Linked DNA regions of Homo sapiens: all the other regions are linked to region 2. Evidence: promoter capture Hi-C in 16 types of primary human blood cells and fetal thymus (Javierre and others, 2016). All regions are on one chromosome and are shown on one strand. The core of a region is centred on a gene start or on the middle of the fragment in contact, and the rest is flanking DNA. Distances in the headings are between cores, read along the strand shown. Region 1 holds the start of TTK (TTK protein kinase). Region 2 holds the start of SNHG5 (small nucleolar RNA host gene 5). Region 3 holds the start of PHIP (PHIP subunit of CUL4-Ring ligase complex). Region 4 overlaps PHIP (PHIP subunit of CUL4-Ring ligase complex). Region 5 overlaps HMGN3 (high mobility group nucleosomal binding domain 3). Region 6 overlaps PHIP (PHIP subunit of CUL4-Ring ligase complex). Region 7 overlaps PHIP (PHIP subunit of CUL4-Ring ligase complex).

Region 1 (3,738 bases), core at 1,106-3,605, 5.7 Mb before region 2:
TTTCAATTAATGTCATCCTCCTGTTTCAGGATCCAGTTTATGATATCACAGTGCATTTAGTTGTCATGTCTTCTTAGTCTCCTCTGTGATGGGGTGGTATTAATTTTAATAATATATTTTATTTAACTCAATATAGCAAAAATATCATTTTAACCTGTAATTGATATTTTTAAAATTATCAATGTTTATTACTTTTTCTTATTCAGTCTTCAAAATCCAGAGTGTATTTTATACTTAACAGTACATCACATTTCATACTCAGACACTTTCACTGGAAATACTTCATCTGCATTTGGTTCTCACAAAATTTACAGTTGAAAAAGTAGGTTCATATACTTACATTGTTCCAAGTATACTTAAAAGTCTTCCAATAAATTCATGACTAATGCAAGTTTAGAAAAAAGAAAGCAAAAAAAATTACTTTAAATAGTTTAAAAATAATCCCATTAGATATCAGTTTTCAAATTTAAATATAAATTTAATTAATCAATTAAGGTTAATTGATTTAAAAATTCAGTTCCCAGTTGCACTAGACATACTCAAGTGCTCAATAGTCACAGACCATCACAAGGACTTTTGATTTTATTCCGAGCTAGAAAGGGAGCACTGAAGGGTTTTGAGCAAAGTAGTGACATAATCTGATTTAAGATGACTTTGCTATGTCAGAGAATAAATTGAGGTGAGGCAAGGGCAGAAGCAGGGAGACCAGCCAGGAGGCTACTGCAGGTAACATCAGTTAAGTGATGCAGATGCCTTGGACTGAAGTGGTGGCAGTGGAGGTGGGGAGAACTGGTAGGAGTCCAGGAATCTCTTGTGCCAGCCCTGACTCAATCTGCTTATGAGTTAGATAAGGGATCAGGGATGACACAAAGGTTTTGGGGCTAAAAAATTTAAGACAATGAATTTGTCTTTTATAGATTTTGTAAAAAAAACAGGTTTGGGTAGGAAGATCAGGGGCTTGGTTTTGGACATTTTGAGTTCAAGATGCGTATGAGACATGTAAGTGAAGATGTTAATAAGTAGGCAGTGGATATCTGAGTATGGAGTTGAGGAGAGCTCAGCTAATGATACACATTTGGGAGCCATCAACATATAGATGGTATTTAAAAATAGAAGACTGAAGGAGACCACCAAACGAGAGTACAGAAAGAAGTGTTAGGGTGAGGTCATCCAGCAACAGTATTTTAAGGAAAATGCAAGCTTTGTGATCAGGCCGCAAACAGATCAACGAGAATTGGAGGAATAATAAACTCTTTCCAGGCAGAAGCATTAGATGCAATGGTGCAAAGGTAAGTGATTAGCCAACCATGGTATAGCAAGTCATTTTGCTCTGCTGAAGCAGAAATACTAGCTAGCTGACACAGAAAGATGCATTAAGTGATTGAGAAGGGCTCTCACGCTAGCTGGGTGGCTATCCAGAGCTGGGAATGTGAGGGTTCTAAGGATAGCTTTGGAGTTAACAAGTGACAGCTGCAGTTAGTTTCCTATACATACACAAAACCAACCCGTCCTACCACAGAATATATGTCATAATGCTGGCACAACAGACACATCCCTTTTAGTTTTGCAGACGAGGAGTAACCGTTGCCCTGGACCACAAAGCCACTTAGCGGCAGAGCCTCGCACCCGCGAAGATTATTACTAGGGAGATGTTTTTACCCCTGAGGACACCTGAGCCCTTAAGTGGGGCAGGCTTCGAGGGAGGGGGGCCGATAAGGCGACTTCAGACAGGGCAATCACGATGGGCGCTTGAGTTCTGCGCAGAATTTTGACAAGGGGGAGGGTCTTGGCTTGAAGACAGAGCGTGGAGTCATTTAAGGATAATGGAAGGGCATAAGCAGAAGCTCAAGGATAAAAAGCACTGAAATTCTTGAGCTGGCGGCAGGGCTGAACGTAGCTCAGTGAAAGATCCTTTCTTGCCACATCCTCTCTAAGCCAGGCTGTGAGAACCGCGGGAAACGAAGGAGAAGGGTGGCGGTGGGGTCAGTAAAGGGCCGGCCCAAGGTGCATCTTTTAGGTCCTGATGCTAGGAGCAGCCGTCCCTGCCCCTATATTCCTCTCACTGGGTAGGTTTGCTCGGGAGTGGCTACCTCCCAGGCAAAAATTCGGCCTGGTTAAACTGGAAAGACCAGGAAAGCCCGCCCACGGGCGTCCGGGGAACGCCTGCAAAGTGCCAGCACCCTACCAACCCAGGCGCCGCACGGGTGGGGTCGCGGCCGCAGGCTCTTCCGGGGCGGGCCTAGCCTGACGCAGGAGGAGGGGCGGCCCCCGTCGCACAAGAACCAATCACGACTGTCGCTTCTACGTGGCTAGCATTGACCAATAGGAGACCGTAGTGATAGCGACGGGGAAATTCAAACGTGTTTGCGGAAAGGAGTTTGGGTTCCATCTTTTCATTTCCCCAGCGCAGCTTTCTGTAGGTAAGTTCTGTCTTACCGGTGCACCGGCGCACTGAGGAACAGCCGCAGCCGGTGTAGGGGCTCATTGTTAGCGCTGGTCGGTGAGGGGTGGGGCGAGGTGGGGGCAGCTCGGAGCCAGGTATGCGACGCGGCTAAACGAGCTGGAGGGGGAGGGGATGTCTCACTGCCTCAGCGGGTCTGGCCGGTGGGGTGATGCAGGAGGTTTTGTTGAGGAAGTAAGAAGTGGGTGTGGCCCACGCTGGAAAGAAGGGGTGGTGGGGTACCTGCGCACAAGATCGTTTTCCAAAGGACAGTCTCTCTTGTTTTGGGGGTTAGAACTGGGAAAGAAGCGGGTGGCCGTGATCTGACAGTTATCTTTCAAACCTGACTTAAGAGGTGGAGTGATACCTTGCTGCAACTTTATGACTTTTTTTCATTGTTAAACCTGAAGACGGGGCAGCATTGTTATCAGTGACACTGAGTTGGTGTTTGAGAGTCACAAAGATACGATTAACAATAAGACTGCAGACACTTTATTGAACAAACACCACCACCATGCAGATAAGCAAGTGCTCAGTACCAGTACAATAGTTTCTTAGTGTTAGATTAAGGTAGCAAATCGTGATTCTGCTAGATATGCACAAGAATAAATCTGCGGATTTCCTAATTATCAGTAAAGCCCCATCATGTTTATATTCTGCTTTGAAAGCACTTGCACTGGAAGATTTACTCAAGTAAAGCAGGCGAATAAAGGAATTGTTATTCCCATTGCCAAACGAATTCTTTATGTCTATGTCACTACCAGAATCCAAGCAATCTTTATGTGTATGTCGCTACCAAAATCCAAGCAAACACTCTATCATATTTTTTTTAAGTGACACTAAATTTGCAGATTTCTACAGTGTGACGTCATTGATGTTATATTGGGGGAAAAAGTATACTTGGCCTATGAAACCTTGGTGAATAAATTACAAAGATGTGTACCTTGTTGTTGTGCACTTACCTCCATTAATACTAGCCTAATAATAGCTGCATTTAGATGTGTTCACAAAACGAATGCTTTAGTCGTCTGGGTTCTAAAAAGCTAGTGCATTTTTTTCTTTGATGCTAGTTAAAGTAGGAGTTATGACTGTTCAGTTTTTTTCTTAGAAATGGAATCCGAGGATTTAAGTGGCAGAGAATTGACAATTGATTCCATAATGAACAAAGTGAGAGACATTAAAAATAAGTTTAAAAATGAAGACCTTACTGATGAACTAAGCTTGAATAAAATTTCTGCTGATACTACAGGTGAGTTTTTCTTTTCTTTTAAGTTAGTAACTGTTTGTTGGGTATCCTC
Region 2 (3,844 bases), core at 663-3,162:
TTTCTCAACTTAAGCATCCAGGCTTTCAAAATTATAGTTACATCAAAACTAAATATTCCATGATTTGCTTAGTAACAATTACTTCTAATTCCTGTCTCTCCACTCTTACACTGATCCAAAAACCCTTACATTGTACCCTGCACAAACCCGAAACATTCACTCACAGTAATTTGATTACAAGGCTGGTTAGTGGATTTTCCATTTAATGCTCCCCATGTTATTTCAGGACCTATTTAAAAGTAATAACAAAAAGGAACATAATCCAAAATTACATGTTTTATTTTCATGTTTGTAAAACGAAGAGCTTTTTTCTGGATGGTTTTCTTATCAGCTTTTCACACAACAGTCAAGTAAACCTCGTGGCACTAGCCCTAGAAAAGGAAAAACACGAGATTCTTACAAGACTACAAACATTACAACATATGTAAAAGCATTAAAAGTATTAAAAAAAAATATTGTCCTTATAACGGTCCATCTCAGAAGCCAGATCCGTAAAAGTTTTTTTTTTTCAACAGAAGTTCAGGTTCGGGATAAGATCATCACAGATAAGACCAAGGACACAATATTCACTGATCTCTAAGCAAACAGAAAAACTCCACTTACAGAAATCGTTGCAACTTTGGAACTTCCAAGACAATCTGGCCTCTATCAATGGGCAGACAGCGACCCTCACTGTTGGCAGAAAAAAAAAAAACCCAGGATTTTATAACACAACTGTTATAAAATCACGGCAACAAAATTTACTCCACCTCTGAATTACTGGTCTTAATCTCAGAAGCCGAATCCGTACTTATTTTTCTTCAGGTTATCAGCTTCGGGATAGGTTTCATCATTGATTAGACCAATCAGACCTTGTATATGTACACATAATACATTAAACTGCACTTCTGTGACACTGACTACAAACCAAGGTAATGCTAAAAGGCAAGTATTATAGTACAAATACTACAGAACTTTTAAGCCATACAACCTACTTCAAAATGAAGCTGCTAGTCAGTCACATTCGACATTCATTATCTTCACTGGCTACTCGTCCACACTCAGAACGCTGTTCACTGACAAAAAAAATTTGATTTAGTCTAGGTGTGGATTAAATGCTATGCTCAATCATAAAGTACTAAAACAACACATACCTGTTAAAAGTGTCAGGTTTTAACCAAGCGATTTTCCATTAAATATTCTCCCAGATGTTCTGGAAGTTTTTTCGTGTATCTAACAAAAAAAAGTAAATTTCAAACGATGCAACAGTTCCTATTCCTGTAAATCAACAGGTTTACTCCTTTAGTTTGGAAACTAAGCTTAACTAAGCTCTTACCTTTGCATCTTCAGAGCTGCTCCACTGTGCCACTGAAGACAGCGCCATTGTTCCTGCGGGAAATCGGTATTTAAGCATTCTCGCAGAAATGTCACACTCCAAGGCGTTTTTCCACACAAAACCCTTCCCCTTCATTAATCCGAATTGCACACAACGCCGCCTTCGAACAGCTCAGTTTCAATACAGGGTCGAGGCTTCCCATTTTAAAACAACGCCGACGGAAGGCCTTCGCCATTTTAGTAAAGGCCCTTTGCTGTTAAAACTAACCCTCCGCCCCAATTAAGGTGGTTTTTCCGCCGCCGCTCAGGCACATGCCGGAGGCCAGCAAGTTCGGCGCCCGTGGCCGATCAGCGGTTCCTCACGCCAAAACTCGGAGCCTGTGGCCGTCACGACTCAACCTCAGTACATGTGGCAGTCCGGCCGCACGTTTCCCACGTGCAAGCTTTCAACTCTCAGCACTCTAAACTCTTCACTAAGATGTCTTCACAGGATTAAAGCTCTTAACTCGGCCTGCGCCACCATCTTTTGCTCGGATACTAGCCCGCAATACCCACTCACCTACCACCCGCCCAGACGCTCGCGAAGGCCGACGTAAAAGACCGAAGTGCGCAGCCAGTAGCTCCTTATATAGCCTCCCGGAGTCAGAACGAGGCCGTCCCGCCCTCTCGCACCTATTGGACATGGAAGTAGACAGGGGTGTGGTCGCGAATTAGCGGGAGCGCGCGCGGTGGCTCTTCTGAGGCCCGTTCCGCGTTGTGGAGCGCGCCGCAGGCCGGCCGCGCGCCCGGCCATTTCCCGGCGCGCGCCCGCAGGCGCACTGCGAAGCGTCTCTTACGAGTCTGGCGGCCGACTTGGCCCTACGTGGCGCGGGTGTGGCGCCAGAATTCAAACAGCTGCAGTTGGAAACGACGCTTTCGCCTGCCACGAGCCAAGTCCGTCCAGGACAGATTGGGTCCGAGAGTGGACACAAGTTTTGCAGCGCAGGGCGGCCTCAGCTTAGGACCGATTCGAGAAGCTGGGCTGGCTGGCTGGCTGGCGCTGGGCTGTAGTGGGCCCCCAGCGGAGGCCGCCGGAGGAGCGGGCGAGCCCTGGCCGCAGCACTCCGGGAAAGGGCAGTTGGCTGGCAGAAACGCTTGGGTGAAAAAGCGGAAAGCGCCACGTGAGAACAGCCCCGGCGTGCGGCCCTGCAGGGCCTCAGGGCGGGCATCAAGGCCCCATGGGGATCCATTCCTCCTCACGCTTCCTCGTGCCAGGCATCCGGTTACACTAAACGTGACCATACAAGTCTCCCTCAAACAGCGAACGTGAGGTTCAATACTCCATTTCGCAGAGGAGAAAACTGAGGCTTAAAACAGCCAGGTAATTTGCCTAAGGTCACACAGCTGAAATGCTTTGCTAATTTTTAACTTCTTTGTACTCAATTAGTTATATTGAAAACGAGAGAAAGATTAATTTGAGAAGTATCCCTGAATACTTTATCCAGACGACAAACACAAAATTCAAAAGCAGTGCTTTGATTAATTAGCATGTTCGAGTGAATATGTCTGCGTGTGTGTGTGTGCACACGACATTTGAACATTTCAGTATTTGAAAATTCAGGTCGTTCTTCACTTCTATATTTCAAAGCACTACTTATTAAAGTTGTTTATGTGTGCATTTGATTACGGTCCGATTCTGCTAGAGTGTGGGAGCAACACATCTGATTTCGTGCTCTGCTGTTTATTTTTTCTTAGAACAGTGCCTAGCATTAAGTAGGTTGTCGGTAATGGTTAAATGAATGAATGAATGAACAAATACATTCGGTGGCTTTTTAGAAAATTAGAATGAAGATCAAACTTCACATTCAAAGATAGTAGTGAAAAGCACTTTTCTCTAACAGGAACCTATATGATGAAGTATTGACTGGGCCGGGCATTTTGTCGGTTTTTGTATTACTTTGTAATGTCTTACATAAATTTGCATATTGCTCATAGTAAATAGTAAAACAAACAATACAGTACAAAAGGATATAAGAAGCAAAGTAGGCCGGGTGTGGTGGCTTATGTCTGTAATTAGAGCACTTTTGGAGGCTGAGGTGGGAGGATTGAGCCCAAGACCCTGTCTCTATTGTATTAAAAAAATTTTTAAAAAGAGTTAACAAAAAAAGCAAAGTGAAAGTATCTTTCCACATGCCTGGGAATCTTCTCCCTAGTTGTACTCTTCAGCAATACCACTGTTAACAGTTTTTGAGACTTCCTATGCAAATGCAAATATATGTACTTCGTTTTTCACATACAAATGGGATCTATATGTTCTGCAACTTGTTTGTCCGTCTTGTAAATATCATAAACATCTTTCCATATCAGTACATATAGATGACTTTTTTTTTCCAGACAAGGTCTCACTTTGTGACCCAGGCTGGAGTGCAGTGGCTCTATCTCTGTTCACTGCAATCTCGGGATCAAGTGATCCTTCTGCCTCAGCCCACCAACCATGTGGGACTACAAGCACGCGCCATCACGCCCTGTAATTTTTCTGTATTTTTCGTAG
Region 3 (4,240 bases), core at 488-2,987, 6.6 Mb before region 2:
AATACTGAAGTGATAAATCCACTTCTGAAAAGCAATTTTTAAAGATTCCTAAAATACTCATTTTGACAACCCACAAAATTAAGGTTTTTAAGCTATTAAACAAAATATGTCCCAATATAAACACAACTTTCATAGGCCAAGTTCCATCCCACAGTAAATATGTGGACAAAAATCAAAACTCTTCAGTGTACTCCAATAATAATTTTTAATTAAACGAGAGGCATACCATAAGAATTAAAAAAAGCCTACTAAACTTCTGGTTTTAGGGAATTACAGGCTTTACACTTCTGCAAAGATGTGTTTTAGTAAATGCAAGACGAAGCACTGACCAACTATCATCACACATCAGAATCCTTCCAACAAAAAACCCAGGACTGAATTTAAGGAAAACAAAATAAACGACAGAGGGGGAAAAAATAATGTCTTGCCACGGTACCGCAGCGGCTGGATAGCCTGCTTGTGAAATGCTAATGCCACTTCGGAGCAGTTAGTCACCAGCTATTGTGTAGGGCAGGAGAAAGCCGAGCCGGCCGCGCGTGCAGAGCGAGCAAGCGAACGAGCGAGCGCGCTCTCCCTCTTCGCGCCGCTCCCGCCGCCGCCGACTCTCGCGCGCCCCCGCGCCCGCACGGACGCGCGCGCCGGCCCCTCCTCCTCCGGCCTTGCACTGCACAACACTCATGACGTATCTTTATTTCTAGCACATTAACAAAATATCACAAATAAATTGTCCGCAGCCCCTGCGGCCCCGAAGTACGAGTACCCCCGGCCACTGGCCCCCGCAGACCCCGCGCCGGCCTCCCAACCCTCCCCATGGCCTTTGGAGCTTTCACGTTCTAGGGCCAAGTTTTTGTCTCTGTAAAAAATTGCGGGAAATTCAATTTTTATTCGACTCAGGGAAAAGTTTCTTTGCTCTGCGACGTGAATGTCTCACCAGATTCTGGTAGGTCCTGGGATGCTCCTTCCCGGTCCAGTCGGTGCGCCGGGGCAGCAGCTGCGGGGAGAGGACACCCCGTGAGCCCGGCCCCCGGCCCCTACCCGCCCGCTCCCCTCCCCCGCCCGCCCCGCGCCCCGGCGGGGACCCCGAGCCCCGCGCCCCGCGCCCTGCCGGCGGCGGCAGCGGCGGCGCAGCGGCCCAGAGGCGGCCGCGCGGCGGCGGGACGCGCCGGGCCGCCGCCGCCCTTACCTCCTTCTCGGCCACCTCGCGGATCAGCACCTGCAACAACAAAGCGGGGAGAGCTGAGCCCCGCGCCCCGGGCCGCGGCCCCGCCGCCGCCGCCTCCCTCCCCCACGCCCGCGAGCGGCGAGCGCCGGCCCGGCCCGCGCCGCGCGCCGCCGTACCTGAGCCGCCTGCTGACAGGGTCCATCTTCCAGGAACCGGGCGATGAGGAAGTAGAGCTCTGCGCGGGAGAGAGGGACGGGGAGACACACAGGCTGAGCGGTCGGGCGGCGGGGGGCGGGGGACCGCGGGCGGAATCGCCCGGTGCCAGCGGCCCCGGCAGCCCCCCGACTTACCCGATCGCAGCTCCGAGAGGCCTTTCCTCTCACAAGACATGTTTATGGGTCACTTCAGGGCCGCCGACGGGACACCCCGCCGCCGAGGGGAAGCGGGGACGGTGCCGCCGCCTGCCCTATAGCTGTCAGTGTGTGTTCACGAGCCGAGCTTCGGCTCCACCATTCAAGCAACGGCGGCGGAGGCGGAGGAGGAGGAGGAGGAAACAACAACTCTCAGGCAGCGACTACGGCCGTGGCCGCCTCCGCCGCGGATCCCTCCGCCGCAGAAAGGAGTCCGCCGCCTTCGCGGCCCAGGGCTCGGCCCCGGCTCTGGCCCGCGCCCCCGCCCCCCGGCGCTAAAAAAGGAGTGCCTCCGACCCCTCGTCCCCAGCGCTCCGCACGCGGCACAGTGAGACCCCCACCCGCTCCTCCCCGCAGGGCGTGCGATTTATTTATTTATTTCCAGTCGGAGAAGATGTCGGAGCCCAAGCCGCCGGTTGGCTGGAAGGCGCTTTCTCTGTGGAGGCCGATAGTGGCAGGGAGGGGGCCGGGGACGGTTCCGCGGAGGGATCTGACGCACACGGAGCCGCAGCACAGGCTCTATTCAGCGGCGCTGGCTGGAGCTGAGATGGAAGTTAGTTTCTATGTAGCAGAAATATGAAACAAATGAAGCAAAACTGCCCAGAGAGGGGAAATGCCCCAAGGATGGGTCTCACTCACGCGCGTACACAGACACACACGCAGAGAGCACTCTCACGCTGGGCAAGCTCGGGATCGCGCTACCCTTCCCGAGTTGAATGATAGTGTTTGGTTTCTGTCTCTTGCCATGTGCATGTGTATAAATGCTGCGGATTGGCATCTGTGTAAGTCTTGTCCTGCGTTATTTCTGCAGCCTATGCAAGTGTTGTGTAATTTATTGGAGTGCTGTATATTGCAATAGAGGTTTGGGCTGCTTTTTGTTAAGCACTTGCGTTTTGCAAACCCGTTATTTGCTGAAGCCACCTCTGCATATTTCTTTTATTACTGCCATTGCCTTTGGCGTACGTTTTTTAAATGTTTTTTATTGTTAAACGGGCAAAGCGAACTCTTGATTTGTACTTCAGATACTCTTTTTCCTTATTACAAAAAGGCTAGTGATGGCTAATTAGGTATTTGGAATTAAAGAACCTTAAAGCTTTTTTAAGTGTTTACGAGAAGGGAGAATGTAAACCTGAGGGAAAGGAAAGGACGCTAATATTCATGTCTAACTGATCTGGAGGTAATTTAGTGACAGATCGATAACCTGCCTAAGGATATTGAAAGAGTATACTACAGTTTAGCCAAGGTGAATAGTGATTAAATAATTTAAATAATCTGTGTATCTTGCAGTTGACTTCGTCATGCTAATTAATGGCTTCTAATTTGAGATGTAAACCATTCCTGTTTACAGTTAATCACGGGAAGACTTCTTGAAAACTGACGAAAAGGAGAAAAAAAAATCTTTCGTAAATTAGTATGTAATTACCGATTTTATATGCTAAATCATACATCTGTGTTTTGCTGATGAGGATAAGGGCCTTGTTTTTAAAAAAACGAATATGGGTGAAATTAATGGAAACAATAGAAAAAGCCATTTGTTAGAAAACAAGGACACCAAATGATATTTATCTCCAGATGATTTAAGCACTTTCCAAAAAGACTTGAGAGTTCAATATTTTTTAAGGATTGCATTTTAAAGGGAATTTGGATAGTCGTTCTTTTGTTAACATTTAACAAAAGATTCTCCTTAAAAATGTTAGATAATAAACTGCATTTTATGGGTCTGGTTTAAAAAGGTTATTTGTGGGGAAAGGACCAACAAGCTGTATTGTGGTTTTCTAGATTGTTTCCTCAAGCCTTGTAACCTCCTAGCTCCTTACATTCCTAGTGGGAAATACTTGCTGCAAATGCCTTGGGCTGCACTGTAAGCCCAAGTGTGCTGCACCAGTGTGATGCCCTATACTAAAACATCCAGAAATCATCATACATATGAGGAAGAAGAAATAAAGCCTCAAACCCTTTGGAATAATAGGATATAAAATTGCCTTTTGTAACTGAATCTTAAAAATGGAAGGTTACCATGACTTGTCCTATTGCAACCTGGTTATCAGAATAACTTATTTTTTTTAAGATAGCTATTCTCAAATACTGAACATATTTGCATCTTTAAAGACACTTTATTCTATTCAATTATAGGTAAAGTAGCCTATTTCTAGGTGGTTAGGCTTGAAAAGATAGACTGAAAAGATAGGAAATTTTGTATGCCTTTTTGCAAATTGTATTTACTTCTAAGACCGATGCTGTTTTAGCTTAACTTTTAAAAAAGTGTTCTTCAAATAATTGTAATATTTTACACGATCTTGAAGTTCTTCAAATAAACAGAGTTTAGAAACTAAAAATTATAGTGGGATTTTCTGGTTTTGAAGGCTTGGAATGTATGATTCTTACTAATAGATGTTTTATTCTTGTGATTGAAAATAAACCAAATTATGACATGGAATATAATATTACTCTGGGTAAAGTTTGTGATATATATCTTCTGTGTGTTTTGTAAACATAGAAAACTAGCATGATTATCTCATATATTCTTTTCATTTAGAAGCCACAAAAGCTTTCACCTAAATATGCTACTAGTACTTAGCTCCTTAAAAATTTTTTGGAAAATCCCCCTCTAAGTTTTCTAAACATGATGTTCCTGTCATTTTGATTGATTTTTGACAGTGTTTATATT
Region 4 (4,108 bases), core at 1,284-3,783, 6.7 Mb before region 2:
TTTGTAATCATCATATTATATGCATATTTTAGGATTCCTAGTCTCTTTACACCTAAGTCTAAATATACTTGGACAGCTTCCTCCTACCCAGAGACCTCTGGAGCTAGCTTATGGTTCACTTAGCCACTTAGACTACCCATTTAAGAAACAGCATCTTTGCTCGTGAGTTGGTAATACACACATACAAGTGAATTTATAAAGATATTTGAGTTCCCAAAGTTGAATTGATTCATTCAACTAATGCAGATGCAGGATTTCTAAAGTCATTTCCCCCAGCAGAATATACAAAAGCATTATAGCTAAATACAATTTTTGCCTTTGATTATTAATTAAATCCTATGTGACATAAACAGTATAAATCTATATCCTGCCAAATTTTTGGCAGTTTTCAACTATGTGTAAACACATAAAGAAAATAGGTGTTCCAAGGCTTATATCTAAAGAGCAATGGATTGTTCTTGTTTTTGTGTTTTTAATAAGACAGGATCTTGGCCCTGTCGCAGAGGCTACAGTACAGTGGTGAGATCACAGCTCACTTCAGCCTTTAACTCCTGGGCTCAAGCAAGCCTCTCACCTCAGACCCCTGAGTAGCTGGGACTATAAGTGTGTACCACCATGTCTGGCGTTTGTTGTTGTTGTTGTTTGTTTGTTTGAATTTCTGTAGAGACAAGATCTTGCTCTGTTACTTAGGCTGGTCTCAAAGTTCTGAACTCAAGTGATCCTCCTTCCTTGACCTCCCAAAGTCCTGGGATTAGATAAGAATGAGCCACTGTGCCCAGCCAGAGTACTCATTCTTATGCCTGAACTCTGAATTTAAAAATTTTAAGGGACAAGAATAGGAAAGAATATAGGAATAGGAAAGAATATTACTTATAAATACCTAGAAAAAACTTTGAAGTCCAAAAATAAAAAAATTACTAAGTTGTATATAACAACTCTATTGAACATAATGCAAGCTATTAAAATACATATAAATATCTATGGTAAAATATTAAGAAAACAAAATTATATATATATTCCTAATTATATCTATATAAAAACATTCATGGAGAAAAAATACTGTATTAGGGTAGTGGTTTATATGTGATTCTACATAAAGGTTCTGAAAAAATCATTTATATGGACAAGCTTACTTCTCAAGCATCCAGAAACATGAAATGTTATTGTACTTAGCAATAAAATCCTCAAGAAGCACAAATAAGGTGTGAGTTTAATTCTGTAAAACATTTTCTGTTCCTATCCCAATTTGAACATTGCTAATCACTTTTTCTTCTCTAAAACAATAAGACAGGAAAAGAGAAAGGTATCCCCATCAGGTCCATGAGGAGGTTAAAAAACAGTAGCAACAATTAACAATTAACTATTGCTACTGTCCATATACATCAGTAAAATATTTCAACTTTTATCTATCTACAGAAAGACTTTAAATACGAGGGATGCAACTGAAGTGAAGTCAACTTGCTTTGTCCAAAGAACCATGTTTTAAATCACAATCTTTTTTCAAATGAAGTAGTTTTGTTACTCGAGCTACCATGGCCCCCAAGCTGCCATAAGAACCACTCTACAAGAATGTTCATATACATGAAGTTAAAGAAGCATGTGTTGCATTACAAACAATTATCTAAACACTACTGTTTTTAAAATAACAAAGGCATACATATATTATTTTATTAAATAACTCAACTTGGGTTGCTAATTTATACATAGCAGTCAGAGATAATTACTGATATATACCTTCTAATCTGAATGACTTTCCACCCCGAGTGGCAGAAATGGCCATTTCAACACTGTGAAATCAACTGAATAATCAATTGAATACACTACTTTCTTGTTCAAAGACTATCCATGGAGCAAATACACTATTTCCTCTCCCCACTACATCCACTTAAAAGATATGGTATAGAGGCTGGGCACGGTGGCTCATGCCTGTAATCCCAACACTTTGGGAGGCCGAGGTGGGCGGATCACGAGGTCAGGAGATGGAGACCATCCTGGCTAACACGGTGAAACCCTGTCTCTACTAAAAATACAAAAAACTTATACGGGAGTGGTGGCGGGCGCCTGTAGTCCCAGCTACTCGGGAGGCTGAGGCAGGAGAATGGTGTGAACCCGGGAGGCAGAGCTTGCAGTGAGCTGAGATCGCGACACTGCAATCCAGCCTGGGCGACACAGTGAGACTCCGTCTCAAAAATAAATAAATAAATAAATAAATAAAAGATATGGTATAGAAAGCATCAAAGGGCAGAGAAGTGCTCTAGTCCTGGCCTTGCCAATTTTTAAACATAGTTTTAACTATGGGAAAGTCATTTAACCATTTCAGTGCCCTTAATCCAAAGATAATACTATCCAGCCAACTTGTTTTGATAAACCGAAGTATTAATATGGGCGACCGCACAAATGCAAAATGTTATTATGGGGAGGGAGGGGAATACATCTATCTACCTTGATGCAGTTTAGTGAAACTTCAATGATTCTGTCTCCCTACATTTTCCTAGATCTAAAATAAAATCTAAAGTTTATAGATTCAGTAGCATCAATAATTAAAATTATTCTAAAGAACAGCATTAGAAATTCTTAAGATTAAGTTCTGAGCATCAAAAGCAGCTATTAAAACTATGCAGCACATAGAAAGGAGTGGTAATAAAACAGGTAAATGCTGAAGGAAAGAGCTAGGATTAGGATAAAGAGAAAAAAAATGTGAACATGAGAAACTTTCTTTGAAACATAAAAAAAGGGGAGGAATAAAAATAAAACAGGTTAGTAAAGAGCCAAAAGAGGATTTCTATTATTTACTCAAGGAGAAAAAGTAAATGTATTCCTATTGTCGACTACTTTATACTTTTGCAATTTCACTCATTAAACTAAACACATTTAATCTATGAAATAAAATAGAAACTGACTTTATTTTAAGGGTTCCAGCATCCCAGAGCCAAAAACAAATAGTGCCATCTGCCCCAGTAGAAGATAGATATCTCTTTGAGCCACTGCACAATGGTGAGAACTGAAAAGACAATCACAGAAAAAAAATCTTTACAAGAGTGACACAGTCAAAATAAAATCTACTTTTTGCCATACAAATAGCAACTAACAACAACAGTTAGAAAATGGCAAGAATTTACCAAGGTTATGTTATTTAAAGTCCATATATTTATAAAGAAAGCAGACATACTCCTGTCTTCATTTTAGTTGGCCTTATATACTGGATTATAAAGGTGATTATAAAAGTAACTTCTTAAAATTTAATAACCAAAAGTGACTTCATTAAATTTACTTTACATTATAACAACAACAACAACAACAATGTATAGGGATTAAGACAATTACCTGTAGTGATGTAATAGATGCACTATGGCCCTGAAGAACAGCCAAAGGTGCACAGGTTCGAAGACACCAGACTCGGATCATTTTATCACAACTTCCAGCTGCTATCATGGTATTCTCATAGTTTACAGCCATGTCTGATATTTCAGCAGCATGTCCTCTTAAGGTAGCTAACAACCTCCCATCATCTGTTGCCCATATTTTCACAAGACAGTCATCAGAACCCTTAAAGTAAGAATGGATATTAATAGAATTAACCCCATAAATTTTAATTCAAAATCTTAACACTGATAAATCTACCTGTTCTGTCCACTTCTGAACAAGTATATTTTTAAATACCAAAAAGTGTTAAATACTTGTGTTAGCTTACACAAAGCTCTTTATTAAACCACTTAAAAAGAGCACTTGTGTACTCACCAGCAAATAAGACAAGTGGGATAAGATAATTAATATTTACCTTTGGTTCCCTATCTACTATCAAAGTACCCTCAATGTGGATTTCTGTAAAAGAAATTGAACTTCTGAAATAAAAAAAAAAAAATCATAGCTGCAAAACAAATGCAAGCTACAATGGTGACTAATATTATCTATTTTGTTTTGTAATACAAAACTAAAAGTAAGCTTGTTTGGGGCTTTTTCTCTCAGGAAGCTGTGAGTTTCCTATCACTGATCTTCAGCTAAAAACATGACATTATCTAAAGCCAGTTATCAGAAAAAAATTAATCTCATCTGTATGAAGTCAATAAAAATACATAATTACTTGTTTACTCTGCCATAGTAGTGTAAG
Region 5 (4,151 bases), core at 157-2,656, 6.5 Mb before region 2:
TCATGCAGCTAATGGCTACCATATAGCACAGCTTTAGACAAAAACAATCATGAAAGATAGAAGTGGGGTCGGTAGATAAGAAGTTAAAGGATACTATGGTCCTGGTTTTGTTCTGGAGGATGATACAGATACAGATTAATTTTAGACTTTGTTAAAATAAAATTTAAAGTTACCATTAAAAAATGTAAGAACAGAAATAGGATCTATAAACTTCCAAATCAGGAGGGGTGGAATAAAACATATTTACCAATAAAAAGCAGGAAAGTAAAAAACAAAGGAAAACAAAGAATAGAAAACATAAAAAGTCCAAATAAATCAGCAATCACAATATACCTAGACATAGTATACCCTTCCATTATAATGACAAGTGACAGAGGGAAGAAACAGAGTAATACATGTACAGGACTACACTTCTACAAATTGCCTTTTTTGTTTTTTTGAGACGAAGTCTCACTCTGTCACCCAGGCTGGAGTGCAATGGCGCGATCTCGGCTCACTTCAACCTCCACCTCCTGGGTTCAAGCGATTCTCCTGCCTCAGCCTCCAGAGTAGCTGGGATTACAGGTGCGTGCCACCACACCTGGCTAATTTTTGTATTTTTAGTAGAGATGGGGTTTCATCATGTTGGTCAGGCTGGTCTCAAACTCCTGACCTCAGGTGATCCACCCACTTTGGCCTCCCAAAGTGTTGAGATTACAGGTGTGAGCCACCACGCCCCACCACTTATACAAATTTTAGAACATGCACAAATCAATATTATGGATGGATGGATGGATGTGTCATAAAGGTATAAAAGCAAGAACTGGAAGAATACACAACAAATTCGTGATGATGGTTATCTTTAGGGGGGATGATAAGGAAAAAGGAACCAAGGGGATGTTTCAAAGGAAACTGAACTTTAATAATTTATTTTCTAAAAAGGCCTGAAATGAACAATGATTTTTAAAAGACTCCAATTTGTGAATTCTCAGTGGTGGGTAAATAGGTATATTATATTATTTCCTGGATTTCTCTGTATTTATGTTTTTTTCTAAATAAAAATATTATCCATACTGGGGAGAAGAAAAAGACTAAAAGCAAACCTACTCTATTAAAAACAGTACCATATCTACTCCCTAATACAAATTACATAACTAGGTTTACTCACAGCATTTTTTCTATTTCTTCAATATCGTATCAATCTGGTTTATATTGCCTCCTCTTCTGTACAAGACATGTAATATAACTGCTTCATTTGTACTGATAATGAAGGCACTGGACTCAGAACTCTTGAAGGAGTGTGGGAGTCGAGATGGGCAGAGGGAGTGTGGATTCCTTCAACAGCTGACCAACTGTGCCATCCCCATTCTTTCTTTACACAAAGATGCCTGGGTCCTGCATGTGCAGAACACTCAAATGTACTGAAGGGATCAGAACTGTATTTTCCTTAAGTCTTTCCAGCAGTCCCTATCAGAAACCAAGGGAAGAAACTTGGAATTTTTATTCCATAGGCCATCCATGAAGAATCAACAAGGTTTGCTGACCTTCTTTCATGTAAACAGTGCTTACCACAACATAAACAGGCACTGTGGGGTGATGAGCCCAATTTTCTCCCTCCAAACTCAAGAAGGTATCAGAAGAGTGTAAGAAAATCCTTACACCCTTTCAACAGCTGCTTAGGAACGGCTTTAGATGGCAGCAGTCTGTGGCTTTGTTAGTGTGGAGAAGGACACTGAGGGAGAGGCAGGAGGCAGAGAAGTTTAACGCTACTGCACTAGGAGTGATCTTCAGCCCATGGAAGACAAGAAAGAGGAGGGCTCAGGATTTTCAGCACAGTGTTGGACCTTTCTTATGTTAAACTTCCAAAAAACCTTCATTGGTACATGTAGTACCAATTCATTGGTACATGTATTGGTACATGTATTGGTACATGTAGTACAAATTCATTGGTACACATAGGCTCTTAGTTACTTAGAGTTTTACTTCTAAGAGTTTAAGTGACAAAGGCTATTGTTTTACGACTTCAGCGAATTAGCTGAAGGCCTACAGTAATTATGAAACTCAAATAACCATTTGCCAGCAGCCCCAGAATAAATCCAATCTCAACTCCTAGGTTATCCATGCTAACGAGGAAAAGCTGATGGTATATATAACAGTGCAAAGAGACCAACAATCATTTCTTTTAACCTAGGGAGTGTATTACATTGAGATAATCTTTTTCTAATTTGCTGGCCAATGTTTTAAAATTATTACTTTTATTGTTTTTTTTCAGTTACAAACTCAAGGCTGGGGAAAAAAGCAGTCCAGTATTAAATTGGTTAAAAAGAAAACCACTATGGCACCAAAAAATTCAAATAACACACCACGAGAAGGTCTGAAATGTGCCTATACCTAACTCTGTCGCTCTTCAGCTAAAATGAACACATAACTACTTAACACAAGGTTAATTCTCTCCACAAATGAGGGCACTGTCCATGAAATTCTTATAAGGTTTCTTGAGTTAAAAGGTAGTCTCCTTAAATTCAAATACTTCTATGACACATTAAACAGACACTGGAAGTTTTACTCAAAGCCACCAAGCGATGTTTAACAATGGCTTGGTTGTTTTTCATTGATCCTGTAGGTGTATGTCTGGGATCCTCTATTACTACATTGCTTTTAAAGTAATCTTTAAATATCCAATACTTGGAATTGAGAGGTCCCTTCATGGGATTAATAATCAAACTTACGTTAAATTTATTTTCCATATCCTCCCCTGCTTGGCTTATCAATTCCAACAGGTGACTTCTATAAACTCAAATTACATTGATTAAGGTCACTGCAGGCTACTATGTCTTTTGTAAATGTTATTTTATTGTTCAAGATAAAAGTAGTAATTAAGAACGCTTCTTTAGAAGACTTTGAACTGAAATAAATAGCAACTCTCTCTTTTCTGAGGACCACTTTGCAGGGAAAATATTTCTCTTGCAATCAGATATAAAAGATAACTAAAAATAAAGAAAGTTGTGTGCCAGTATGTTCAGTGAAACTTTATTAGTGTAAATACACACAATTCAATAATTAGGGTTTATATTTAATATTAAGGAAATATAGGCCAGGCACAGTGGCTCACATCTGTAATCGCAGCACTTTGGGAGGCTGAGGAGGGCAGATCACTTGAGGCCAGGAGTTCGAGACCAGCCTGGCCAACATGGCAAAATCCGTCTCTACTAAAAATACACACAAGGCTAGGTACAGTGGCTCAGGCCTATAATCTTAGCACTTTGGGAGGTCGAGGCAGGCGGATCATGAGGTCGGGAGATGGAGATCATCCTGGCTGACACGGTGAAACCCCATCTCTACTAAATATACAAAAAATTAGCTGGGCCGGGTGGCATATGCCTGTAGTCCTAGCTACTCAGGAGACTGAGGCAGGAGAATTGCTTGAACCTGGGAGGCAGAGGTTGCAGTGAGCCGAGATCGCGCCACTGCATTCCAGCCTGGGTGACAGAGCGAGACTCTATCTCAACAAACAAACAAACACACACACAAACAAACACCCACAAAAAACAATTAGCTGGGCATGGTGGCACATGCCTGTAATCCCAGATACTTGGGAGGCTGAAGTGTGGGAATCGCTTGACCCTGGGAGGTGGAGGCTGCACTGCACTCTAGCCTGTCTTGTCTCAAAAAAAGAAAGAAGTTTAAATATTTTAAACCTCTTTGGTCTGAGCTGTCCCTTTCACTAGAGTTACCTTTTTTTTTTTTTATGTGCTGTGGTTTTGTACAAACATGGCCATGCAGAAAGCACGTGGCTCAATCAGAAGCCTGAATTCCAGTCTGGCTCACACCTGACTTCTCTAGACTTGAGTTTCTTCACCAGTAAAACTAGTTAAGATGGACCTTAAGATCTCACTCACCTGACTAACTTAGCTACTTGTGTACTTATTTATCACACTATAGAAGTGCCATGTGTACATCATGGGAATGCCAAGCACTGGGGTATCAGGAAAGCAAAGGAAAAGGAGCACAGCAGAATAATGAAGATGTGTACTGCAATTATGTGCAAGGCAATGATTGAAATGATTTAATCTTCACCGCAATCTTATGAGGTTGGTAAAACATGATTATATCCATTTTATTAACTAGGAATTGTGGCCAGAGAGGTTGAATAACTTGCCCAAGATTAGTCA
Region 6 (3,828 bases), core at 796-3,295, 6.6 Mb before region 2:
GCCTAGTGAAATGCAAAAAACACTCAGCACCCACTTTATTAATGAGCAATATGAATAGTGAACATATGTGTACCCTACCACCACTTGAAGTGAAAATAATAAAAATACAAGAATTTTTCAAAAAAATAGTGCCCTCATATCTTCGTTATTTCTTATTGTAAGGTAACATTCTGAAATCTGTAACTCCAAACCACCAGTAAAAAATTACAAATGAGACTGAATTTAGCAAAACAAATTCTATCACATTCTTAAAAAATAAACATCTTTAGACTTTGGTAAGACCATATAAAATAGTACAGTGCTACTTTTCTTCTCTTAATTGATGTGCTTTCAACTAAAGAAATAACCAACAAGCAGCTTCCTCTTCGCATATTATTCTTGTTCTCTAAATCACATGCCCTTAAAAGAAAGAATCAAATGTCTAGAAAAGGATAGCAATTTTTTTCTGTACAGAGCTGGATAAATATTTTAGGCTTTGCAGGCCATATGTTCTCAGTCAAAACTACTCAACTCTGCTGTTGTAGTGCACAGGCAACCATAGACAATATATAAACAACTGAACATGCCTGTGTTTCAATAAAATTGCATTTATAAGAACAAGTGACAAACTGGGTTTGAGACGCAGGCAGCAGCATGCTGAACCCTGGTTCAAAAAGCTCTTCCAAGTCTGTACCTACCACACTCATGAGATAGCAAAAAGCACACTATTTCACTGCATTCTCCCTAAAAAAATTCCAGGAGATTATATGTCTAATTAATATCAAAACATGTAAAATGCTTCATAAAATATGATAAACAAATGCTTACAATCCCTATCATTTTTAAAGAAAGAATTCCTACAAGGTTCTTTACAATGGCATAACTTTATACTGACCTACTGGCACAATATAGTGCTCCTTTTTCATTATTTTAATTTATTACTGTTTTTGAAAGAATTCTTTCAAACATTAGAAAAATCAAATTTACTTAAGGTTTTTGAGAGGTGAATTTGAATATACCCATATTAAACTTGAATGGCTAAATTAATTTTCGATTACTATTTGAGAGCAAATTACTACTGTAGGTATGTCAGGCACTTCAGCAAATATAGAGATGCCTATTTTCCACTCTGAAAATAATACTTGATACAAGAGAACGTAAAAAGGGAAAATACTGATATAAGAAGTGATGTGCAAATGCCTGAGGTAGATTAGAGCCAAGGGAAAAGAAAAGTATAAAAATGCATTCCTACATCCTGCTATTTAGCTGTTTTACAGATGACTGGGTGTATGGATAGAGGAGAAGTAGTAGGTATAAATAGGTCTCAGTTTACAAGCAAATTTACTAAAAAGAGGAATCTATAATTGTCATAACTACGTAAAATTCACAGCTGCTCTCTTCAAAGACAGGAAAATTTCCATTTAACTTCCACTTCAAATTTTCTTATTTCAAAAGAAATTAAAAACCTTGTGAATGAATGCATACCTTCAGCCCACAGGGTAGTGTTTAATAATAAATATCATCATAATAGTGTAGTATTATGCTTAATGAATGTAGATGTTAAGGCACCTGAAAATCAAATATTTCCAAAAGTAATTTTCTCACTTAAAATAAAGCTCAAAAGCTTTGCTTTTCTCTATTCAACAGGTTACAAGAAACAATAACAAATAAACAAACCCAAAGAGGCTCTATAAACAAAACATCAGATATTTTGAAGAATGAACTGTTAAGAATAACAGGTAATAAGAGTATTAGATATGCTCAGAATTTTTTAGCTTTTTTAAAATCACTATTTTAAGGGAAATTTCTCATAGACAAGCAAGTGATTTTCTACAGATAATATAAAAAGGTATATTCAATAATCTCATACAATTATAAAAAGGCACATTTAATAATCTCTCAACATACTTAGATGTCCTTAGTTCAAAATTAAAATTATTTTATGCCATTTTGCAAAATGTCAAACTGTGTATTTGATATATGTTGAGAACCATACTTATTCATGATGTACAACCATATAATAACTGTGACTGTGCTGCAACATGTCATTTAGAAACTTTCTGAATTTGGATAAAGTCCAAATTTAACTAAACTCTTCTGTTAGAGTAAGTGAAACCACCTGAATTTCCGGTTTCCTATTAAAAGAAAAAAAAGCAAGGTTTTACTTCAAGTTCACCTATAAGCAATATTTCCTCAATTACATATATGAATATAAATAATACTTTAGCAATTACTTACAGTAAATATCCGTCTGCCAGTTCGATCAAAAGTTACACAGTACACAGATGACAAGTGTCCAAGAATTCGTTTATGCATTTTCATGTGCTGATACACTGCAGTTGGAACAAGTCGCTCAAGTCTGTATTTCCCATTCAGCTTCCTTGAAAACAGAGTATCCGCTACCAAGAAAAAGAAGGAAAATAAATGTAATCTGGAAATTAATTTTCTTACATGATCACCTTTTAAGAATTCACATACTCCAATTTGTCATGTGCAGGTAAAAATAAAGAAGCTTTCTGATATATATGGCTTCTAGTTAAAAGTCTTTAAAGTAATGAATAAAAACATTGTTTCACCTGAAATAAGTCAGGCACTATCATTCTCACTTTATAACTTAATTTGTAAGTTAAATGACCTGTCCAAAAATCACAAAGTAAGGCATGAAGCTAGGATTAAAGCTCAGATTTATTTACTCTCTGGCTAGTGCTCTTTAAAAACCTAAAGCATTTATATGTTATTTCCTTAAAAGCTGTCTATGAAATAGTTTTTCTTACAAAGGCACTTAAAACTGGAACCCAGTGTACTTTTCATAAATCAGTAACACTTGAACACTCGAAATCTGACATGCAGAATGATATTTAAAAACATCTTTATAACAAGTGAAGATAAAGGAATACGTCATTTGCATTATTAAAAAATAATAATTAAACTGGGAATCTTGCCAAACACCTGTATAATGATTCCTTCTCTGGAATCTATTAGCTCTCCCTTAGTTCTCCCTTTCAACTCATTCATTCTAATCATTATTCAAGATCTGACTGAAGTTTATCTTCTGTCCCAAAGCTTGATACATTGACTCCAGCTGAAAATGTCCTCTTCCATCTAAATTACTACTGTACTTATTTTCTATACTGGTAACTTATGGACAAAGAAGGTGCTCAATAAATATATGTTGACTGATCTGCAGGCACATTATTAACCTACAGATGATCTTCTAATACAGGCTTTTTTTTTTTTTTCTAACAGTGACTGCCATCTACATTGGGTAATTAGCACTAGGGTTTCTCGGTCGAATTTAGCCCTAAAGAAAACTAAATATATATACAAAATACTACTTAGCCAAGGTACAGAGCCCAGTAATTATGCCCTAAAGTTGATAAAACATAAATATATTGGTTGTATTATGAAGAATCTCAGTATTGCTTATATTATTCACATCCAATAAATGTTTGGCTCACACTATATTTCCAACCACTCCACACTCCCGCTGCCCCCACCCCAAACCCCCAAAAAATCTTTGGGCCTGGTGAGGAGATATATAGCCTTTACAGGTTCCTAAGCAGTAATATTTCAAAGAATAATTACACTATGCTTATATGTTCTTTCATCACAGCAATAATTTTATATTCTGATACAGTATTTCTCTTGCTGTTAGCATGTAAGTTCTATGCAACAATCTACCCCAACACTTGGGAATTTCTAAAACAAGGTTTGACAGTTGTCAATTAGCATATTTAGGCTTAAGTTGGTTATATACCAATTTAACAGAGACTCAATAAGTTTCAATCATAGCTTAGACCCCAGACACATTTTCTTCACGCCCAGGAATGGCCTGGTAAAAGACATCCT
Region 7 (3,773 bases), core at 789-3,288, 6.6 Mb before region 2:
GTAACAGCTTGAAATAATGCATTGTACCACTATGCAGGCAACTATTCTGGCAAGAAGACTGATGAATTATTTCTCCCCAACACCATCCTGTTCATTACTTTATAGCGATAATAAAACAAAATATATACCATGGTGAACTCTAGCAAAACACAGACACTAACCTATGACTATGCAAGTTGAGTCATTTTGGTCAGTCTAGCTTCTCTGCAGTGCTTTCAAAAAATATATGTAAATACAATTTTTAAAAGTAGGCAAAATGGGCAATCCACTACAGGTGTTTCTTAAAATAAAGCAAAGATTTTCCTGAAAATCACAATGGAAGAGAGAGAGAAAAAAATTATCTTAAACTCTAAAAATAAAATAGTCTTTCAGAAAGGTACATCAATCACCTGCTTGGCAATTAATTCTGTTACCTAAATGAATCAATTACATTTCTATGCTTGGATGCAAAACCCAAGGTATTTTTGCCATACGTATATATAGGGTTCTGTACCATCTGTTGTCTCCGACATCCACTACGGATCTCAGAATGTATCTCCTGTGAATAAGGGAAGATAAATGTTCCTCTCTCCTTGTCAGCAGTATTTACTAATCTGACCATCAACGACGTGGCCTAAAATATTATATTTGATTTTATAAATATTTGGTTCCCTTTTACAAAAAATGACTAACACCAATTTTCTTGAGTAGCCAAGTGTTATTATTAATAAATTCAGTTTACTGGGAATAAAGCATAGCATAATGGAGTCAAACAGTCTGGGTTGAATCCTGGCTTCACTTCTCACTGCATGTGTGAACTTGGTCAAGTTACCAAAATCTTTCCATGCTTCAGTCTCCTCTGTAAAATAAGCATAATAGTTCCTACCTATAGAACATTTAAGGTTTTAAAAGAGTAAATAAATAGAAAATGCTTAGAACAGTGTCTGGCATACAGGAATTACTCACAAAGCAAATGTTATTTACCATCAATCATTCTTACACTTTCATTACCTACCACAGGCCTGACTGACAATGTACTGAAAGAACAAGCATAACGTGTTCTCCTTATTATGTGGATCTATAGTTTTTCAAAGACAGGATAAACTTTTCCTAAATGGGAAAACTCCTATAATATTTTATCTTTCCCTTCTTGCAGGAATCCTATTATACCACCTTAGAATACTTTTCTAAGTACAAATATACCCTCGTCTCTCAAATTTTTTTGTTGTTTTAATGGTTGTTTATTATAGCAAGATTATATATTGAAATTATTTAAACAGGACAATCTTATGTTTTAAAAAAAATCATAGATGATTACCCACCACGCAGATATCACATACGTTATCTCTGAAAAGTAAGTCAGAGCAAACAATTCAGAATACATCAGAGAGTCAAAAACATGTAAAACATAGAAGAAAGGATAACGAAGCAGATAAAGTGTTTAAGTCCCATAGGAAAGGAGAGAGAAAGGAACACAGAGGTTATTTTAAGATAATGACTGAGAATTTTTCAATGTCAATAAAAGACATTTCCAGAATCTAAGCAAGACAAATTTTTAAAAAATTAACATCAAGACATATCATACTCAAACTGCAGAAAACCAGAAAGAGAAAAAATCTTAAAAACAATTAGAGAAAAAGGGATTGCCTTCAAAGTAGCAAGTTAGATAGTAGATTTAAACCCAAGTACATCAATGATTATATGTAAATGACTAAATGTTCCAGATAAAACACAGATTATCATATTGTATTTTTAAAAGCCACTTTTATATTTTTAAAAGACAAGAAATAAAAGGAAACAAAAAGTTGAAAGCAAAATTATATATATATATATATATATATATATATATATAAAAATGCCAAACAAAAGTCATATAAACTTACGATCTGTATAATAAGTATCCAGAAAAGGAAGAATTAAGTAAGATTTGAACAGGTGGAAGAAAGAAGAGTAACATTCCTGGCTAGGCAGGAACATGAGAGTGGAAAAGAAGCTATGATTGAACTTTGAAGGTCTCTGAAAATTAGGAGTACACTTAGAGAAAGTACAACACTATTAAAATATCTTAACCTCTTTATACTATCTTCAGCAGAAGAGTGACACAACAAAGGTAGAACTGAATAAGGTTACTATTACAGTGTTACACACTATACTGGGAGGGAGAGAGAGATAGAAGACACCATAGGCAAGAAGATTAGTTTGGATGATGCTGTATTAATCCGGGTAAGGCAAGGGCCTGGTAGTAGCAGATGTGAAAGGCATGAACCTAGGAGGCATCTCAAGAAGACATACTTGCATCAGTACTCCCTCTTTGAAACTTTAGCCAAAAAAAGAAAAAAAAAAAAAAGTACTGTGCTCTTAAAAAGATAACTACTTTTGTCTCCTACCATTATAACTAATCTGAATTATATATTGATTCTACTAACTCGACCTAATAATATATACCTTAATATGGAACTTTCGTAAAAATAAAATTCCAATGAGCTAATTGGCCTACATAAGGTGCAATGTGCACAATCCCTCATTATACATGACTTTTTCACTATTAAAACTACTACTAAGAAAAAAAATCTATTTTTTTCTTTTTGAATGCAGATGTACATAATATGAAGTTCTCTAATACCACAGTAACTAAAAAACCTTTTCATTTTCAAAAGCTCTTTACCAAGAGGCTATTAACTACTAGTGAACTCAAACAACTCACCAATGCTGGGTGGGCTACCATAGTTAACTGGTGACTCAGGTGGTCTTCCACAGTGCAACGCAGCCAGAGCAGATCCTTTCCACACAACATGCTTGCAGCCTATTAAACACATGTATTTTTATGCATACAAAGAACACAAAAACAAAAGTGAGATAAATAATGTCTAAATCCTATGAGAAAATTTTCATACTTTTATTTGTGCGTAGTAAAGACTGTCTTCCAGCTCCTAATAAAGTTTGTACTCCAGGAACACTTTGAGGAATTTCTTGTTCAAGAAGAGGTCCTAGTCGATGACATATTTGCAGCAAGTGATCAGGTGCTAAGTGTCTGTAATACTTCACCTATTATGTAAAAGACAAATATAGTAGGTTTCAGTTTATCATTTTAATTTTCAAAATCTTTGAGCAACAATAAAAAAATTCATCCAAGTATAAAATATTTTGTTTTGCGTCTTTGATGTAAAGTAAATCTCCAGAATAATTAAGAATTAAGAACTGATAGTTTGTTATTAAAAAATTTAAGAACACTTAACATCTATGCTGAATTTCATAATTTACCAAAAACCTTACAGAGAGAAAGGCAAAATTCCAACTGCTGCTTTAAATATCTTTCAATCATAAAATAAAGCTACCCACTATAAAAAGTTTGAGCACTTTTGGAACAACTTCAAAATACTGCTTAATTTATACCGGCATTTGAAACCATGACATGAAATGCTAATATTTTTATTAGTCTTTCAGTAAATAAACAATATTCACTATCTAAATAAAATTATATTGGAAAAAAATACTATTGTATTACTTCATAATTAGCTATCAAGTTAGAAAAAAATTTCCACAGTAGTATCTAGTTCAGCTATTCTCAAAGTATGTTTTGGGAACCCCTGGAGGTCCCTCAGATAAAACTTATGAATAACACTATATTAGTTGTTTTTCACTTTTTCTCATGAATGCACGGTGGAGGTTTCCACAGGACACATAACATGTGATGTCTTAACAGACTGAATGCAGAAGCAGATAGGAAAATGTCTCCTCTATTAAGCCAGATATTAAAGATTCACAGAAATGTAAAACAATGCCACGCTTCTCAC

The links. The method cuts DNA at HindIII sites, captures the fragments that hold promoters and counts their contacts. A CHiCAGO score of 5 or more calls a contact.
Region 1: a contact is called between the fragment with the promoter of TTK here and the fragment with the promoter of SNHG5 in region 2, in 3 of 17 cell types (total CD4 T cells, fetal thymus and total B cells). The highest score is 10.0, in total CD4 T cells.
Region 3: a contact is called between the fragment with the promoter of PHIP here and the fragment with the promoter of SNHG5 in region 2, in 8 of 17 cell types (total B cells, activated CD4 T cells, neutrophils and 5 more). The highest score is 12.5, in total B cells.
Region 4: a contact is called between a fragment that was not itself captured here and the fragment with the promoter of SNHG5 in region 2, in 3 of 17 cell types (monocytes, neutrophils and total CD4 T cells). The highest score is 15.7, in monocytes.
Region 5: a fragment that was not itself captured here is called in contact with the fragment with the promoter of SNHG5 in region 2 in 1 of 17 cell types (monocytes); the score reaches 6.9 in monocytes.
Region 6: a contact is called between a fragment that was not itself captured here and the fragment with the promoter of SNHG5 in region 2, in 1 of 17 cell types (activated CD4 T cells). The highest score is 5.6, in activated CD4 T cells.
Region 7: a contact is called between a fragment that was not itself captured here and the fragment with the promoter of SNHG5 in region 2, in 2 of 17 cell types (neutrophils and monocytes). The highest score is 14.8, in neutrophils.

What each region holds. Positions count from the first base shown.
Region 1 is chr6:80,002,294-80,006,031 of GRCh38, forward strand. It overlaps TTK (TTK protein kinase), which reads left to right and starts at 2,356. Exons shown (of 22, transcript NM_003318.5): 1 at 2,356-2,420; 2 at 3,549-3,689. The coding sequence starts at 3,551. RefSeq lists enhancers at 1,393-2,267, 1,838-1,957. The HindIII fragment of the contact is 2,460 bases long and covers 1,199-3,658 here.
Region 2 is chr6:85,676,821-85,680,664 of GRCh38, forward strand. SNHG5 (small nucleolar RNA host gene 5) reads right to left here and starts at 1,913. Exons shown (of 6, transcript NR_003038.2): 1 at 1,874-1,913; 2 at 1,316-1,368; 3 at 1,134-1,212; 4 at 975-1,055; 5 at 604-672; 6 at 187-371. SNORD50B (small nucleolar RNA, C/D box 50B) reads right to left here and starts at 839; the gene lies at 769-839. It overlaps SNORD50A (small nucleolar RNA, C/D box 50A), which reads right to left and starts at 548; the gene lies at 474-548. RefSeq lists enhancers at 1,494-1,553, 1,724-1,883. The HindIII fragment of the contact is 13,479 bases long and covers 1,756-3,844 here.
Region 3 is chr6:79,076,517-79,080,756 of GRCh38, forward strand. It overlaps PHIP (PHIP subunit of CUL4-Ring ligase complex), which reads right to left and starts at 1,738. Exons shown (of 40, transcript NM_017934.7): 1 at 1,513-1,738; 2 at 1,339-1,397; 3 at 1,184-1,213; 4 at 932-991. The coding sequence starts at 1,552. It overlaps LOC124901346 (a long non-coding RNA gene), which reads left to right. Exons shown (of 2, transcript XR_007059652.1): 2 at 1-750. RefSeq lists silencers at 457-956, 1,456-1,625, 1,756-1,995 and an enhancer at 2,116-2,165. The HindIII fragment of the contact is 4,735 bases long and covers 1-2,663 here.
Region 4 is chr6:79,022,619-79,026,726 of GRCh38, forward strand. PHIP (PHIP subunit of CUL4-Ring ligase complex) reads right to left here. Exons shown (of 40, transcript NM_017934.7): 8 at 3,325-3,546; 9 at 2,901-3,001. The region is part of intron 1 of LOC124901346 (a long non-coding RNA gene); the gene reads left to right. Among named protein-coding and RNA genes, the nearest start is that of PHIP, 54 kb to the right of the region's middle. The HindIII fragment of the contact is 2,814 bases long and covers 1,127-3,940 here.
Region 5 is chr6:79,220,026-79,224,176 of GRCh38, forward strand. All of the region lies in intron 1 of HMGN3 (high mobility group nucleosomal binding domain 3), which reads right to left. Among named protein-coding and RNA genes, the nearest start is that of HMGN3-AS1, 12 kb to the right of the region's middle. The HindIII fragment of the contact is 7,289 bases long and covers 1-4,151 here.
Region 6 is chr6:79,040,626-79,044,453 of GRCh38, forward strand. It overlaps PHIP (PHIP subunit of CUL4-Ring ligase complex), which reads right to left. Exons shown (of 40, transcript NM_017934.7): 7 at 2,218-2,378. The region is part of intron 1 of LOC124901346 (a long non-coding RNA gene); the gene reads left to right. Among named protein-coding and RNA genes, the nearest start is that of PHIP, 36 kb to the right of the region's middle. The HindIII fragment of the contact is 888 bases long and covers 1,602-2,489 here.
Region 7 is chr6:79,057,795-79,061,567 of GRCh38, forward strand. PHIP (PHIP subunit of CUL4-Ring ligase complex) reads right to left here. Exons shown (of 40, transcript NM_017934.7): 5 at 2,874-3,024; 6 at 2,684-2,782. All of the region lies in intron 1 of LOC124901346 (a long non-coding RNA gene), which reads left to right. Among named protein-coding and RNA genes, the nearest start is that of PHIP, 19 kb to the right of the region's middle. The HindIII fragment of the contact is 5,266 bases long and covers 1-3,773 here.